Linked DNA regions of Homo sapiens: region 1 is linked to region 2. The links are contacts of gene promoters, found by promoter capture Hi-C in blood cells and fetal thymus (Javierre and others, 2016). All regions are on one chromosome and are shown on one strand. The core of a region is centred on a gene start or on the middle of the fragment in contact, and the rest is flanking DNA. Distances in the headings are between cores, read along the strand shown. Region 1 overlaps GLYR1 (glyoxylate reductase 1 homolog). Region 2 holds the start of SEPTIN12 (septin 12).

What was found. The method cuts DNA at HindIII sites, captures the fragments that hold promoters and counts their contacts. A CHiCAGO score of 5 or more calls a contact.
Region 1: a fragment that was not itself captured here is called in contact with the fragment with the promoter of SEPTIN12 in region 2 in 1 of 17 cell types (erythroblasts); the score reaches 5.4 in erythroblasts.

Annotation. Positions count from the first base shown.
Region 1 is chr16:4,833,047-4,835,799 of GRCh38, forward strand. All of the region lies in intron 3 of GLYR1 (glyoxylate reductase 1 homolog), which reads right to left. Among named protein-coding and RNA genes, the nearest start is that of GLYR1, 13 kb to the right of the region's middle. The HindIII fragment of the contact is 1,030 bases long and covers 953-1,982 here.
Region 2 is chr16:4,786,895-4,789,753 of GRCh38, forward strand. It overlaps SEPTIN12 (septin 12), which reads right to left and starts at 1,451. Exons shown (of 10, transcript NM_144605.5): 1 at 1,386-1,451; 2 at 586-773. The coding sequence starts at 751. It also overlaps a transcript of SMIM22 not described here. The HindIII fragment of the contact is 19,587 bases long and covers 1-2,338 here.

The sequences.
Region 1 (2,753 bases), core at 218-2,717, 46 kb after region 2:
AAAACATGCTATCAACCATCTCAGAGTCTTATGTCTAAAGTATATTTTCTTGAAACAAGTCAAGCAGAACAACCATCACCACCACTGCAGCAACCACAAATCAAGTTCCTCCAGTGAAAGCACTGTGTTGCAGATTATTTATTTCCACAATCGTCTATCAGCCTCCAATGCCCAACCACATATACGCTGCCACTTGCTCAGGGCAGAAAGAAATCTGGAGACCCTTTCCCATTCTCACCAGGCAGCACAAATGGCCACACACAGATCCCTGGGAATCAGGGTACCTGGAAATGTGATAGATGATAGCAGCATTACTATGCAGGAAAATGCCTGCTGCCTGTCAACAATGGGAACCAGATTTATGATCTGTTGATCCACAGAGAGTCAGGGATGTTACAGAGCTGAAGAAATGCAACATCTTCTAAAATTTGTGGTTCCTATGGATATTCACAGCCACTGAGCCTATATTTGTTCATAAATGATGGTAACCATGGCTACTAAACCACACAAAACACGGAACACATGGTTTGGAATAAGGGCAGCAGTTACAAAAGGAGGCATTTAAAAACAAGATGGCATGCTGTTTTATGATGTCTCAAAAAAAAAAAAAAATAGAAACAAGATGCTTGAGATTAAAGGTAGAAGAACATACACCTCCGATATGTAATTTTTAATTTCAACCATCAATGTGTAACACATGAAAGTGAAAGTAGTCAGCTGTCAATTCTGGGGTTTCTGATCTGTCACACTAACCTGAACAAATCTGCTGCAGCTGGCTTTCTATGGCTTCCCTGAATGGCATGCAGCTTATAGAATCCAAGCACAAAATAATTTTATAGGCTTTACAAGGTATCAGTTAGTTTACATGTTTTAGCCTGTGATACAGGTTTCACAGCATAACCTTCAGAAAAAGTAGGTCAGGTTAAGGATACAGAAACCCAGCTATCTCACAAGCTTCAGGTTGTTTTCTTCATAGAAAGCTAGAGAATATTCACTAACAGCAAGTGTTAACCTTTGCACATAAAAATAATGTTACTAACCCTCCACCAGCTACCTGGACTTTGAGTGTGCTGCTGGTAGTTGTGATAATGGGGTCTGTGCAAAAACACAGACCTGGGATCATCGGCCTGCAGATGTCAGGCAGCGAACCACTATCAGGCATGCCACCATGGCTAAGTGAGATGATGAATGGAGATACAGAAGCTGGTCTCCCTGGCACAGCTCCAACTAGAGGAGTTAGGCAAATTCCTTTTTTTTTTTTTTTTTTTTTTGAGACGGAGTTTCACTCTTGTTGCCCAGGCTGGAGTGCAATGGGGCGATGTTGGCTCACGGCAACCTCGCCTCCTAGGTTCAAGTGATTCTCCTGCCTCAGCCTCCCAAGTGCTGGGATTACAGGCGTGAGCCACCACACCTGGCCTTTTTTTTTTCCTTTTTGAGACAGAGTCTCATTTTGTCACCTAGGATGAAGTGCAGTGGCACGATCTTAGCTAACTGCGACCTCCGCCTCCACCTCCCAGGTTCAAGCAATTCTGCCTCTATCTCCCGAGTTGCTGGGACTACAGGTATGCACCACCACACCCAGCTAATTTTTATGTTTCTAGTAGAGACGGGGTTTCCCTGTGTTGGCCAGGCTGGTCTTGAACTTCTGGCCTCCAGTGATCCACCTGCCTTGGCCTCCCAAAGTGCTGGGATTACAGGTGTGAGCCAGCAAACTCCTTTCCAGTGACCAACTCATCTTAAAGTTTGAAATTCAACATGAGAGCGCCAATGAGTCCAATCTGCTGGGAGGAAAAGTGGAAGGAGATTTCGACCCCAGATTTTCTGGCAAGAATATCCCTGAACTGACTCCGTTCCCTCTCCTTACAGGGATGCTAATGACAGGCCAGAGCAATCAGATGCAAAGTCAGACCCAGCCCCAAAAGCCAGTGAAGCTACCATACTAACCCGTGGGTCTGAGATGACACAACCAGTATCAAGGATGAAGCTTAAGGAGTCGTGACCAGCCAGTTCTTCCTAGGAGCTTCTGGTCAGAAGCTGAGAACCACACAAGTTCCCAATATAGGACCAAAAAGGTGATTTTTATGGAACCCCTTGAGATGGGACAACAGACTCCGAGACTTGCTAATCCCACCCACGCCATCCTGCTACCTCCATCCCTGCCTCCCACTACCCAGCCTCACAGGAACCCGATTCTGAGGGAACAGAAAGGTGAGGATGTCTGTGAAGTGCCAAGGAATCAACCCCATTTTTTGTTGAAGCATCTTACAAGGTTTACTGATTTCTGCTAGAAGGAACTGTACAGTCAAAATTCCACTCACTTTAAAGCATTTGAGATACTAAAATTTTCCTCTTTACAACCATCTTCGAAACATTAAAATGGCTAAATGAACTGACAGTATGAATAGGATGGTAAATCCAAGAAATGTTAATCTATTTAAGGAATCAACTTATTGCTGGAGAAGCATCCTGTTACATCAAAAAACAGCCATAAAAAACCAGCTTGGCTGGGCACGGTGGCTCACACCTGTAATCCTAGCACTTTGGGAGGCCGAGGCAGGCAGATCACCTGAGGTTAGGAGTTTGAGACCAGCCTGGCCAACATGGTGAAATCTCGTCTCTACTGAAAATATAAAAATTAGCTGGGTGTAGTGGCACGCAGCTGTAATCCCAGCTACTCGGAAGGCTGAGACAGGAGAAACACTTGAACCCAGGAGGCGGAGGTTGCAGTGAGCCAGTATTGTGCCACTGCACTC
Region 2 (2,859 bases), core at 201-2,700:
GCTTCAGTCTTGCTCTGTCACCCAGGCTGGAGTACAGTGGCGCAATCTCGGCTCACTACAACATCTGCCTCCCAGGTTCAAGCAATTCTCCTGCCTTAGCCTCCTAAGTAGCTCCTAAGTACAGGCGCCCACCACCACGCCTGGCAAATTTTTGTATTTTTAGTAGAGACGGAGTTTCCCCATGTTGGCCAGGCTGTTTTCGAACTCCTGACCTCAAGTGACCCTCCTGCCTTGGCCTTTCAAAGTGCTGGAATTACAGGCTTGAGCCACCATGCCCGGCCTCATTTTTGTACTTTTTGTAGACATTAGGTTTTGCTAGTCTCAAACTCCTGAGCTCAAGTGATCCACCCACCTCAGTCTCCCAAAACCCTGGATTATAGGTGTGAGCCACCGCTCCAGGCACATTTTTGTCTTTTAATGACTCAGCATTTCTCAAATTTTCAATGACAACATCCCTGTGAGGTGCTATTATCAGGCCCACCTAAGAGATGGGGAGGGGCGACAGGCTGCCAAAGGTGAGGCCACACGCCCAGGCACGCGTAGCACTGTGGGTCTGTCCTGCCGTGGGCCCTACCTCTCACTCACCCACCACCATGATGTTGAACTCAAACCCCATCTTCATAGCCTTGATCTTCAGCTGGTCCAGCACAGCCTCAATGCCCACAGGACCAAGCATCTCGCAGGGTGGGGTGCTGGGGCTGGAGGGCTGCGAGGACAGGCAGGGAGAGGGGGAGCGCCTCAGGGGGTCCATGGGGGCCAAGGGTTCGAGATGCCTGTCACCAGGTGGGTGGGGAGAAGGGGGTCACTGGGGCTCAGAGGAGCCCACATTGACCTCTCCTATCTGAACCCCTATTTGAGCTTGGCCGTTGGCCAACCCCCTCCACACTTCATGCCTCTGGTGTACCCTAAGTGCCTGTAGTCCCAGGGGTGTGGCAAGGGTGCCTGTGGGGAGCTGTTTCTGCAGGGTGCCTCAACACCCATCCAGAGAGGCTCCGCTGCCCAAGGGTCTGCCCTGTCCCCACCTACAGCCCAGGCAGGGGCCTCTCAGGTCGCTTCCCCCAGCAGAGCCTGGAGGGCCAGGCAAAGTCCAGGATGGGTGTTTGCAGCCAGGCTGGAGTCCTGGAGGGGCTTCAGGGAGTGTGTATGGGGTGAAGTGGCTCCCGTCCCAGCAGGAAACTTGGGCAGGGGGCTCAGGAGGAGGTGCCCCCACTTTCCCCAGGGGGACACACAGCAGAGTTGATAGAGAGCGAGAAAGACGGCACAGGCATGAAGGTGACGGAGACAGAGAGAGAGAGACCAAGGTCAGGCAGGGAAGATGGCTGGGAGGGAGCGGTGCGAAGAGCCCACGGGGGGCAGAGAGAGAGAGAAGCAGCCTGCTGTGACACCTGGTGGACGTGGGTCCTGGTGGAGCTTCCAGGAGCTGCCTTGTCCTGGCAGGGCCTGGTGTGTGTGATGGGGGAGGGGAGAGGGTGACAGTTAACCGAAGAATCTGAGCTCCATCTGCACTTGCTGTGACCCCCACCTGGAGGCTTCTCTGCAGCAGGAGCAGGAGCTGTTACCCTTCTAATCCCCACAATGACCCCAGCCTAATAATACAATAATCCCCAAGTAGAACCAGGGGCCCAAGGCCCCCTCGTCAGCTGGGCTCCCACCTCCAAGCTGACGCCCTCAACCACTCTGCTGGGGTGAGCAAACCCAGGCCCCACAGCTGGCTAGCGGGATATCCGTGTCCACGATTGGCGCCATGTGTTTTAAGTTGCAGCGTCAAAAACATGAAGAGATTGCTTTAGCAAATATTTACCCAGTCCTGACTCTGCACATGGCATCGTTCTAGGAGCCCAAAGATGTTAACTTGTTTAATAATCAAGCCCTGTGAAGTAAGTGCTGTTACTACCCCAAGCTGATAGATAAGAGAGGGTCAGGTGAGGAGGTGGCAGAGTCTCTGCCGCTCTGAGTCTGTGTGCTCACCCTCTACTGCCTTTTTCTGGTTTACAGAAACATCTAGATTTCCGGTGTATCTTAGAGGTTATCACCCTGACTTGAGATGCCCTCTTTAAATAGGCCATGTGCTTTCCAGACTGTGGTCCTCACCCCTGCCTTACTGTCTCTCTGATAAGCTGTTTCTTTTTTTGTTGTTTGTTTTTGAGACAGCCTCGCTCTGTTGCCCTTGCTGGAATGCAGTGGCGCGATCTCGGCTCACTGCAACCTCCGCCTCCTGGGTTCAAGCAATTCTCTTGCCTCAGCCTCCCAAGTAGCTGGATTACCGGTGTGCACCACCACGCTAATTTTGTATTTTTAGTAGAGAAGGGGTTTCACCACATTGGTCAGGCTAGTCACAAGCTTCTGACCTCAAGTGATCCACCAACCCTGGTCTCCCAAAGTGTTGGGATTAGTGAGCCACCATGCCTGGCCTTTTTTTTTCTTTTTTCCTTTTTTTCTTTTTTTTTTTGAGACGGAGTCTCGCTCTGTCACCCAGGCTGGAGTTTAGTGGCATGATCTCGGCTCACTGTAAGCTCTGCCTCCCGGGTTCACGCCGCTCTCCTGCCTCAGCCTCCCGAGTAGCTGGGACTACAGGCGCCTGCCACCACGCCCGGCTAATTTTTTCCTATTTTTAGTAGAGACTGGTTTTCCCTGTGTTAGCCAGGATGGTCTCGATCTCCTGATCTCGTGATCTGCCCTCCTCGGCCTCCCAAAGTGCTGGGATTACAGGCGTTAGCCCCTGCGCCCAGCCCTTTTTAAAATTTTTTTGAGACACGGTCTCACTATGTTGCCCATGCTGGTCTCAAACTCCTGGGTTCTAGTGATCCTCTCACCTCAGCCTCCCTAAATGCTGAGATTACAGACGTGAACCACCATGCC